3 separate regions of the Homo sapiens genome follow, and regions 1 and 2 are each linked to region 3. Evidence: promoter capture Hi-C in 16 types of primary human blood cells and fetal thymus (Javierre and others, 2016). All regions are on one chromosome and are shown on one strand. Each heading gives the region's core, a stretch centred on a gene start or on the middle of the fragment in contact. The rest is flanking DNA. Distances are from core to core; before and after follow the strand shown. Region 1 holds the start of KIAA1143. Region 2 has its middle 14 kb from the start of ZNF501. Region 3 holds the start of ZNF660 (zinc finger protein 660).

The links. The method cuts DNA at HindIII sites, captures the fragments that hold promoters and counts their contacts. A CHiCAGO score of 5 or more calls a contact.
Region 1: a contact is called between the fragment with the promoter of KIAA1143 here and the fragment with the promoter of ZNF660 in region 3, in 2 of 17 cell types (erythroblasts and M1 macrophages). The highest score is 6.2, in erythroblasts.
Region 2: a contact is called between a fragment that was not itself captured here and the fragment with the promoter of ZNF660 in region 3, in 1 of 17 cell types (erythroblasts). The highest score is 5.0, in erythroblasts.

What each region holds. Positions count from the first base shown.
Region 1 is chr3:44,759,888-44,763,789 of GRCh38, forward strand. It overlaps KIAA1143, which reads right to left and starts at 1,732. Exons shown (of 3, transcript NM_020696.4): 1 at 1,608-1,732. The coding sequence starts at 1,715. It overlaps KIF15 (kinesin family member 15), which reads left to right and starts at 1,907. Exons shown (of 35, transcript NM_020242.3): 1 at 1,907-1,997. The coding sequence starts at 1,979. RefSeq lists enhancers at 245-887, 1,678-1,957. The HindIII fragment of the contact is 21,704 bases long and covers 1-3,902 here.
Region 2 is chr3:44,741,682-44,745,496 of GRCh38, forward strand. No RefSeq gene overlaps it. Among named protein-coding and RNA genes, the nearest start is that of ZNF501, 14 kb to the left of the region's middle. The HindIII fragment of the contact is 4,209 bases long and covers 1-3,815 here.
Region 3 is chr3:44,583,097-44,586,699 of GRCh38, forward strand. It overlaps ZNF660 (zinc finger protein 660), which reads left to right and starts at 1,868. Exons shown (of 3, transcript NM_173658.4): 1 at 1,868-1,911; 2 at 3,009-3,117. ZNF660-ZNF197 (ZNF660-ZNF197 readthrough) reads left to right here and starts at 1,868. Exons shown (of 8, transcript NR_147692.2): 1 at 1,868-1,911; 2 at 3,009-3,117. The region is part of intron 2 of ZKSCAN7-AS1 (ZKSCAN7 ZNF cluster antisense RNA 1); the gene reads right to left. It also overlaps a transcript of ZKSCAN7 not described here. The HindIII fragment of the contact is 2,337 bases long and covers 387-2,723 here.

The DNA.
Region 1 (3,902 bases), core at 482-2,981, 180 kb after region 3:
CTATCTCAAAAAAAAAAAAAAAAAAAAAGTCCTAGATGGCATCTTCTTCCAATAGAAGGCTGTTTCATCTACATTGAAAACCTGTTTAGTGTAGCCACCTTCATCAACTATCTTAGCTAGATCTGAATAATTTGCTTCTTCATCTCATACTTTTATGTTATGGAGATGGCTTCTTTCCTTAAACCTCATGAACCAACCTCTGTTAGCTTCACACTTTTCTTCTGCAGCTTTCTCACATGTCTCAGACTTCACAGGATTTAAGAGTTAGGGCCTTGCTCTAGATTAGGCTTTGGTTAAAGGGAATGTTGTGGCTGGTTTGCTCTTCTATCCAGACCACTAAAACTTTCTCTGTATCAGCAATGTAGCTGTTTTGCTTTCTTGTCATTCATGTGTTCAATACTGATCCCTCCGGCCCTAGACAACAATAGTCAGGTGTGGCTCTTTCCTGAAGCTCCTCTTCTTCTATTTAGACCCAGGATATTTACGGCTTCTGCTTACTCTTCTTTTTTTTCTTTTTTTTGAGACGGAGTCTCGCTCTGTCGCCCAGTCTGGAGTGCAGTGGCGCGATCTCGGCTCACTGCAAGCTCCTCCTCCTGGGTTCACGCCATTCTCCTGCCTCAGCCTCCCGAGTAGCTGGGACTACAGGCGCCCGCCACCATGCCTGGCTAATTTTTTGTATTTTTAGTAGAGACGCGGTTTCACTGTTTTAGCCAGGATGGTCTCGATCTCCTGACCTCGTGATCTGCCGCCTCAGCCTCCCAGAGCGCTGGGATTACAGGCGTGAGCCACCAGGCCCGGCTTTTTTTTTTTTTTTTTGAGACGGAGTCTCGCTCTGTTGTCCAGGCTGGAGTGCAGCTGCGCCATCTCAACTCACTGCAACGTCCACCTCCCGGGTTCGAGCGATTCTGTCTCAGCCTCCGGAGTAGCTGGGACTACAGGCATGTGCCACCATGCCCGGCTAATTTTTGTATTTTTAGCAGAGACGGGGGGTTTCACCATATTGGCTATTGGCTCTGCTGGTCTCGAACTCCTGACCTCAGGTGATCCGCCCACCTAGGCCTCCCAAAGTACTGGGATTACAGGCGTGAGCCACTGTGCCCGACCTTCTCTATATTATTTTTATTTATTTTTAATTAACAAAGCATAGAAACAGATTCAGGACATTCCTCCGAAGACGTTCCAGACTCGAGTCCTAGGACATGGTTGGGGCGGGGGTCATTTGATCGAGTGGCCTGTGTCCTTATCTGGAATACGGGACGACGCTGTAACTCTAACTCACCCTGCGAACTCACAGCTTTTGAGGTAAACAAGTGAGAAAGAAGAGACAATAAAGTGATCTTTCTTTACCATCTACCAAGGACCAGGTGGTTTACACGTCAGTTCATTTTCAGGAACACAGCAGCGCTCTGAAAACTACAGAGCTTCCTGGGCGTAGGGGGCTGTGGTCGCTTGAAAAGAACCAGCCTGGGGGTCCGAGTTCCACCGGAATTGGGTTCGAGCGCGGGTGAAAAGAGGGACCCGACAGCACCCACCCTCCAAGTAGAGGCAAAAGTTGAAAGTGGCGGGCTGGCTGCGCTTCCGAAGAAACACGACTGGCGAAGGCTCACCTTAGTCTCTACGGTGGGTCCCTCCCTGTAGCCGACCCGTTCCTTGAAGCGGGCCAGAAACGCCGGCTCGGCTGGCCGCACGTACGATACCTGGTTCCGCTTGCTCATGGTAGCTCTGGGTAAAGACAGAAGACAGGTTCCGCGACGGATTCGCGACGATACAGAGGCGCTTAGCTGTGACGTCACTGGGCCACGCCCCCGATGCGTAGGCCGGGCAACATGGCGGCCTCCATGCGGGCGTCAACGTCCGATCCAAGCGCCAAATTCAAATTTGCGGCCATCTTGAGCGGGCGGAATTCAGTCGCGCGCGGTGCAGTCGGGAGGTGGAGGCACCGGCTGCATTGTTTTCGGGATCGAGGGGTGAGGGCGCTATGGCACCCGGCTGCAAAAGTAAGTCTGGGCCCCCGGCTTCGTTACCCTATTTTTGCCCCCAAATACAGCTGTGAAAGGATGGCAGCCTCGGACCGCCCGCAAGGTTCTTGCTAGGCATGAACTGCAGGAGCTGAGTGACCGGCGGGGACGTTTGGGAATCCCGCTCTGTCGCTCAAAGACAATACGCTAGCCGAAAAGCTCATCCCTTCCTTCAGTGTCCTGTGCGCATGCCAGGAGTCTGGCGCAGTTCTAGGCGCTCGGGATGAGCAGTGGACCTGACGTTCTTCCCTTTCTTTCCCTTGGTTCTGCTGTTTCTTCGCAGGCCTCTTCCCACATCCCGACCAGGGCTACCTCTCTAGATATCCTTGTCTCAGGATCGGCTTTTGCTCCCACCAGCTTCTGCGTATTTCTACATTTCTGACCTTCCTATAGGGAAGGGTTTATTTATATTCCAAACATTTCTTTCTCCTCTTTCCTTAAATAAATGGAATGTTAAAACACAGATGTCAGCAATGTCTTTATGTTCTCACAGTCTCTATTTTCACTTAAAGGAGACCCGTCCGATTTCTTTCTCTTTTTCACGGAGGAGAGCACTGTCATTTTGCTTATGATAAACCCTACAGTTTTCACTAACGTAGTCATTTGCTGTGCCTGTGTACGTGCTCCACTTCTCACATTGCCACATCTCTTAAGGAGTCTTATTTTTGTAAACCTGATTATGAGCTGATTTAATGGGATCTTTGTGAGTGGTCTGAATGGTAATGAGGAGAGGCCTGGATTAGATGATTAAGAATTTGTGAACTTCTGTCATTTGAGCTTTCCAACGCCGTTAATGTTTCTAGCTTTCTGTCAATTGTAGTCGTTTTTGATGGGTTTGTTGTTTCATTAATCTTTTAGGTCGATCACACCTAATCGGAACACCTCCTTATGCTACCTTTTTGCATATAAAATATTCCTTTTCCTTTCATCATTTTCAGTATTCAAGGACTATGAGCTCACAAAATGGTACCTTATTGGAGAGAAATGTTCATCCTGCTTTCTGAACAATCATACTGTTTGTTCTTTGTTTCCACTTTATGGATCAGTCACTAAATCTGGACTCAAGCAAAAAATTTGATGCCTGTTAAATAAGTAAAACATCTGCTTATTTAATGAGATATATGTATGTGACTGAGGGCTCTTGTCTGAAAACCAAATTTGAGAACCTTTCTAAAGTGGTGGGAGCACTCTCCTTTATGATGGTGGTGATGCCATGGGGAACTTTTCCACTCCTTTAAGTTTGTTGGCAAAATTGAGGTTGATGACTTCCCAGTTAAAGTGCTTCTTGCATTCCCAGCAGCCCAGAGGCCTGGAGCATGAAGTGGGAACACATGGGAGAAGAGAGCCCGTGCAGTGGTCTTTGCAACTTTTACTTTGTGCCCCGAAGGCTATCTCTCTCTCTCTTTTTTATTTTTGAGACAGAGTCTTGCTCTATTGCCGGGCTGGAGTGCAGTGGTGCGATATTGGCTCACTGCAACCTCCGCCTCCCGGGTTCAAGAGATTCTCCTGCCTGAGTCTCCCAAGTAGCTGGGATTACAGGCACGCGCCACCATGCCCAGCTAATTTTTTTATTTTTAGTAAAGCCGGGGTTTCACTGTGTTGGCCAGGATGGTCTCGATCTCCTGACCTCGTGATTTGCCCACCTTGGCCTCCCAAAGTGCTGGGATTACAGGCATGAGCCACCACACCCGGCCCCATGAAGGCTATCTCTAGTGACATCATTGACACCATGAGTTGCTGACTGTGAAATCAGAGAAATGAAAAAGTGAAATATACGATTCCCCCCTTTTTTTTTTTAAAGACAGTGTTGCTCTGTCACCCAGGCTGGCTGGAGTGCAGTGACGCAATCTTGGCTCACTGCAATCTCCACCTCCTGGGTTCAAG
Region 2 (3,815 bases), core at 641-3,140, 160 kb after region 3:
AGGGCAAAGGGAAAACTGATGCCAAGCCACCATCTGCACAGGGTGTGAGGGGAAAAGTGGACTGGTCCAGCTGGATTGGTGCAGAATGGAGAAGGTTGGTAAGGATTGAGAGTCTCAGAGCAACTGGGAAGATGGTTTGCATTCTAGGACCCTACACCGCAGATTAAGAAGGATCTAGGCTCTGGAGAAAATAGAGGCTATGATCAACTGAGTAGCGAGAAAAGTTATGGCTATGCATGGGAGAATTTGGGGAAACAATGATTAAAAATACAAAGTTCAGGGTCTCATCCTGTAGCTAAAGAACCTAGTCAGCTGTCCCTCAACAGCTCCAGGGACCAGGCTTGTCTTAGCCATTGCCACTTTCTAAGACAACATTCAAATTGATGATACTAAATGGTCCCTTCTACCCCAGCTTCTAGGACCATATATGCCTAAGTCATATTAAACCTAGAGCTGCCATTAGCCTAAGAATGACTGTGGGGCCAATGGGGAGGATTCCTAACGTCAAACCTGGACAGATGCCTTCTGTCTGCTCTTTCTCCTCCCTGAAAGACTCCATGCATGATCTGGGAGAAGCCATAGGTTGGTGAGAGTAGGTGTCAGTTGAAAGATAGTTTCTATAGTAGAGTTTATTGCTTTCTGGGGGAGAGAGCAGGCCCAGGAGTGGGGAAAGGGCCACAGAAACAGGCGCCTGGAAACTCAGACATGTGTCTTCCTTCCCAATGTGACTGTCTGGCCCTGGTTGTCTTGAGCCATCCAGCCAGATATGACTGTATGTTGTGCTGTTTTGTGTCAAACATCAGAACACCTCTGACCTTTACAAAGTGGGAGGGAATCCCTTGTGGGCTGCAGGACTCCTAACAATTAAAAAAAAAAAATCCCACTAATACCTAGAACTGCGCTAACACAGTAGCTACGACCCATTTGTGGCTATTTAAATTTAAATAATTAAGTAGAAGGAAAAATTCAGTTCCTTGGTTGCTCTAGCCACATTTCAAGTGCTTAATAGCCATAGGTGGCTAGGGCAGAATGTTCTATTGGACAACACTTGGACTTGATGTTTGGAAGTCCCAGACAGTAAATTTCAACATATTTTTTGGACGCTGGTATAGATTTTTCAACCTTTTGGCAAAGTAAGTACAATAAACTACCACCTGTCAAAATCATTATTTCATAAAATAAAGTATATTTTAACTTCAAAGAAACAAGAAAGATATAATCTCAGAATAAAGGACTCGTTCAGAAGAGAGGATAATTTGACACCTTTACACTGACCCTTTTGACCCCAGACAAGCCCTGGAGTCTGTATTGGCATTTATGTGCCATTGCCATACCCTAGGATTCTGGCCTCTTTAGTACTGGACATCGGTTGCCCTTGTGCCCTATCCTTGAAAAGGACATCAGGAAGGCCCTAGCAGGATCTTCGTGGCCTTTGGGAGTGAGGTGTCCTTCTCAGTGCATATCAGTAGGTCATGATGTCAGTATGACATTTTTTTTTTTTTTTTGAGACGGACTGTTGCTCTTGTTGCCCAGGCTGGAATGCAAAGGCTCATCGCAACCTCTGCCTCCCAGGTTCAAGCGATTCTCCTGCCTCAGCCTCCCAAGTAGCTGGGATTACAGGCATGTGCCACCATGCCCGGCTAATTTTGTATTTTTAGTAGAGATGGGGTTTCTCCATGTTGGTCAGGCTGGTCTCAAACTCCCGACCTCAGGTGATCCACCTGCCTTGGCCTCCCAAAGTGCTGGGATTACAGGCGTGAGTCTGGCATCAGTATGACTTATTACTGGTAATATTAACTTTGATCAGGCAGTTAAGGTGACATTTGCCTAGTTTCTCCACTGTAATGTTACTAGCTTTTCTTTCTTCTTTTCTTTTCTTTTTTTTTTTTTTGAGACAGAGTCTCACTCTGTCCCCCAAGCTGGAGTGCAGTGGTGCAGTCTTGGATCACTGCAAGCTCCACCTCCCGGGTTCACGCCATTCTCCTGCCTCAGCCTCCCAAGTAGCTGGGACTACAGGCGCCCGCCACCACGCCCGGCTAATTTTTTGTATTTTTAGTAGAGATGGGGTTTCACCATTCACAGGATGGTCTCGATCTCCTGACCTTGTGATCCGCCCGCCTCAGCCTCCCAAAGTGCTGGGATTACAGGCATGAGCCATCACGCCTGGTCACTAGTTTTTCTTTTGTAATTAGTGTCTTGTGGGGAGATACTTTGAGACTGTGAAAATACTCTGGTTTTGAGCATAATTTTGGCCACTAATTTTGGCATCCTTTGATGAGTCTTTCCAACAGCACTTGTGTATTAGTTTCCTATGGCCGCTATAAAAAATTATCACAAACTTGGTGGCTTAGAACAACAGAAATTTATTCTCTCAGAATTCTGGATGCCAGAAGTTTCAAATCAGCTACTCTGCTCAAATCAAGATGTTGGCAGGGCCATGTTCTCTCCAAAGGCTTTAGGGGAGAATCCATTGCTTGTCTCTTCCAGCTTCTGGTGCAGCCAGTATTCCTCAGCTTATAGCCACATCACTCCAGTCTCTGCCTCCATCTTCACATTTCCTATTGTGCCTAATCTCCCTCTATCTGTCGTTTATAAGGAAAGGTGTGAGTGTAATGGCATTTAGGACCCACTTATATAATCCAGGATAATCCACTTATCTCAAGATTGTTAATTTAATCACTTTTGCAAAAACTACCACGTAAGTTACCATTCACAAGTTCCAGGATCAAGACCCGTTGTCTTTAGGGACCATCATTCAGCCCGCTAAATTTTTTTACTGTGGAATTTGCCAAATACTGTTTCTATTTCCATAATTCCTCCTAACTTTATTAAAATTCTACTATAAGGAAGACCTAGCCCTTCTCATGTGTTCAAAATATATATATATTGTTTATATCAATAAGAATTTTATGAGTTGTTATCTACTATCATTAATTCCTTGTTCAAATTGCCCCAGATTTGGCCATTGGTAACTCCTGCTAGTTGGCTCCTGTATCCTTTTGACATGCCTTCATCATTTTTATATTTTTGAGACAGGATTTCATTCTGTCTCCCAGACTGGACTGCAGTGTTGTGATCACAGCTCACTGCAGCCTCAACCTCCTGGGATCAAGCAATCCTCCCACCTTAGCCTCCCAAGTAGCAGGGACTACAGGTGTGCGCCACTAGATACTGCTAATTTTTGTACTTTTTATAGAGATGGGGTTTTGCCATGTTGCCCAAGCTGGTCTTGACCCCCTGGGCTCAAGTGATCCACCTGCCTTGGCCTCCCAAATTGCTGGGATTATAGGCGTAAGCCACCTCCCCCAGCCGTTCATCATTTTTTAAACACCTCCTAATTTTTTGGCACAAGAGGTTCCAGGATCAGTTTTTACTATCTCCACTTTAGCCCTCAGAATCAACTATTTCTCCAAGGAACCCTAGTTTCTTTTTGGAGAATGATCTTTAGAAACTCTCTAAGCAATGCCGCCACCATCAGTGTTATAAACACTGGGAGCTCATATCTCTCCTATCCAATTCCAACCCCAACCTAGGACCTTGCTACTACCTTTAATTCCCAAAGACTAGCTAAATCTTGACTGTCACATTTGATAAGGTTTTACCAGTTTGAGGGCCACAAAAAAAGGGAAATACTGTACACTAACATGGCCCAGTTCTCATGGGATTTCCTAAAGTTGCCTCCCTGCCTAGCCTTTGGCTTGCCTGCCTCATGCTTAGCAAAGAGCATCTTTCCTCTTAAAAGTGAGAGTCTCCTAGGTTGTAGGGCAGTGGTTCACACTCTTGGCTGCAATTTGAAATCACTGGGAGCTTTCAGA
Region 3 (3,603 bases), core at 618-3,117:
TTGTAATATTTAGTAGAGACGGGGTTTCACCATGTTGGCCAGGCTGGTTTCGAACTCCTGACCTCAGGTGATCCACCCGCCTCAGCCTCCCAAAGTGGTGGGATTACAGGCGTGAGCCACCACACCCAGCCTATTCTTTTTAAGTTTCTTGATGTAGTGGCAGTAGTCTTGTGCTCTTCAGGAGAGTGTCCCGAGTTCTACGTCCCACATCAACTGAGGGTGTGAACTTGTGGAGGACTTTTGTCTGAATCTCTTTTTCAATCTCTATACAATGTGGCGGAGTTGTGCCACCTACATGAGCCAATGGAGAAGAAAGCTCCTGGTATACTTTAAGTACTCAACAATATTAAATACTGAATATTTGTCAATTGACGAAGTACTTCAAAAGCTTGATTCTCAGACTCCTTCTTAGATAAATCATTCCCTAGATTGTCTCATCCTGTCCTGACAACTTCCAAATTTATGTCTTTAGCTGTGATCTCTTCACGGAAGTCCAGACTCCTATTCCAACTGCCTGTTTGGCATTTCATCTTGGATGTTTAATTGGCATCTTTAACACATCCAAAACAAAACTATTAATCCCTCTCCCTAAACCTGTTCCTTTCAAGCTACTCGATTTCTAAAAGACCATCCCATGCTAGTTGCTCAGATCAATAACCATGGAGTCATCAGTAACCAACATTCAATTCATTAGCAAATCATGCAGGCCATGCCTTCAAAATATATGCAGAACCATTTCTCACTACCTGCATCACTTCTAAGCCTGTCCAAGCCACTATCAGTCCTCATCTGGAATATTGTAATGGCCTCTTAATCTCCCTGATTCTACTCTTACCCACCTTCAGACCGTTCTCAACAAGACAGCCAAAGCAAACTAAAAATATAAGTCAAAGAGCAAAATTCATGCAAGGTTTATGTTAGAATGGCTAAGGACAGACAGCAAAGAATTCACAGAATTTATAGTAACAGGCTTCTTGGCTTCTTTCATGTCTCATAGCTAACAAGTCTTTGAATATGTGGTAAGGGAAAAAAAGTTAGATCATGTCGTTCCTCTGTCCCCAAGCCCTCCAGCTGTTATGCAGAGCAAATCCAAAGCCCTTATCATAGTCTACAAGATCCTAAATGTGCACCTCTCCACCCCACTCCTGATTAAAGAATTTTGCTCCTAATGGCCCACTATGGGAATACTCTTTCCCCAGATAGCCACATGCTTCAATTGCCCACTTCCTGTCTCTGCCCTCCCTGTCATCTGTAAAATAGTCCCACCACTATCTCCCTCTCTCCCCTTACTCCCTCTCTCCCCTTACTGCTACGTTCTACATATTTATTTATCATTGTCTCCTTGACTTGAATGTAAACTCAATGGGGCAGAGAGTTCATTTTCTTCACTACTGTATCCGCAGCGCCTGGAACAGTGAGTGACATAGTAGGCACCCAAAACGTCTTTTCATATGCTGCCAATAAACCATAGCTGATCCTGGCTTTGAGGCTGAATGACCCAGATCTGTGGAAGGAAAGATGACCTCTCTGCTCAGCAACCGGAGCTGGGGGTGTAACTTTAGGGAGTCTCAGCCTGAGGCTGGCAGCCTGGCCACCCAGATGCTCGGTCTCTTTCCGCCCTAACCAAGCCCCCTGCCCAGCTTCCACCACTTCCAGGGCCCTCCTCACATTGGCTGAAGTCGCCAAGCCCTTCCATCCAATGATAGGGCAAAGCCCGGAAGGGAGGCAGGGCCAGAGCGTCGGCCGACCGCGCGGGGCTTCTGAGGGGCGGGGGGACTCCAGCCCGCGGGCACAGAGATGTGGAAACCTCACGAAGCCTAGAAGGGCCGGAGGGACAGGCTGGGAGTTAGCTGGGAGTTGCTGACGCAGTTCCTTCTGCGCTTTGTTCAAGATGTGGGTCTGGCGCTTTCGGTGAGGGGTGCTCTACAGTCTGGCGTGGGGGGTCGGGCCGGGTTCTGGGAGCGTGTGGGAGACGCAAGCCAGGAGGCCAGGGCTCCTCTGCGGCTGCCCGCTGCTGAGATGGGCGCGGCAGCCAAGGGGTCGTTGTGGGCCTCCCCTTTCTCTCGTTCAGTGCTGCCCCTTTGTCTTGGGTCCAGTCTCTGACTCCTCGTAGCTGCTCGCTTGGACCAGGCTGGCCGTGGTGACAGCACTGTGTCGTCCCCGCTCCTAGGCAGTGGGCCTTCCGGGTAGTAGCGGTCGAGTCCCGCCTAGGCTCTCAGGACTCCACAGCCCCTGAGTATTTGACTCAAATCACCAGTCCAATATCCCTCCCGTTACCAGTGAGGAACCTGGGGCCCAGAGAAGAGGACGGAGTCTTGCCCAAGGTTACTCATTCATTCATTGATTCATTCAACAAATATTTATTGAGCACTAACCCAGTAGTGTGCTAGGTCCTGGGGTTATGGTTGTGTACAGGACAGAACTAAATTCTAGTAGGGGAGAAATGAAACAAACTTCAAGGGTTAGAAGCAGAGCCTGGGGATCTGGAGGGGGAAACACAAAACATATTTGAGGCTTAGTAATCCTAAGAAATGGGTAAACAGAAAAAAGGAACATTCTTTTTCTAGTGCTCTTTTAAAGACTTGTTTCTTTCTGTCTTCCTAAAGACACTTGACTCAGCAAAGTTCTCCCTCTCATCCCCCTTGTGCAGACTTTCTGTGGAAAGCTGGATTGCAAGGAAGTTCTCCACTGCATTGTATTTTGCAGTTAGATGAGAATATGGAAGCTTTTAGATATCAATGGAGCAGGTGAAAAGGGGAGGCTGTGGTGTGATGGAATTAGGATTTCCTGAAGACACAGAAGGCTTTTTAATCACTCACTAGCTATAGGACCTTGGGCAAGTCGTTCAATCCCTGGGAGCTTCATTCCCTCATCTTTACACTGGAAATGATCCTTCTTACTGCCCACAGTTCTATAGGAAGGGAAGTTACCCAAAGATGGGACACTGCCCTGAGTGTCCACTTGGAATTCAGGGCTCAGAGAACTCAGTCATTTATATCTGTTTACAGTGACTCAAGACCCTCTTAGGAACTTCTTCACTGAACTCAAGGAGGAGATCAGGCAAGATCTGTGCTGTGCAGATCCTTTGGATTGAGGCTGCTGTGCACAGGAATATGGGTGAGTCATTCCATTCTCTCCTGGGCAGGTGAGGCCTAGATTGTGAAGTTAGTCTGGGCACAGGAATCCTGCTTGTGGGCACCAGGGTTGAAAGGGAGCTTCTCTCAGTGGTATTTATCAAACAGGAGAAAAGCACTGAAGTGGGCAGGGGGCCTCTGGACCTTGAGGAGTAGAGTTTTGTTTCAGATGGGAATAAGGGTGATGTAGTAGAACTCAAAATTGGGTGTCATGGGACTTGGATTTGAGTCCCAGCTTTCCTCTAAGTTCCAAGTTTTCCTTCTGTACATTTGGATATAAGACTGGATAGACTGGGAGGTTCCTTCCAGCTCTGACATACTGAGAGTCTCTGAATAGTGGGACCAGGTCAATCTCTTAGGGAATTTAGTCCCTGGGATGACTCTGTTGAGACAGAATTGCCAAGAATGCAAATACACCATTATGGTGTTTCCCAGATAATATGAAGCACAAAAAGGACAAACATGTAGA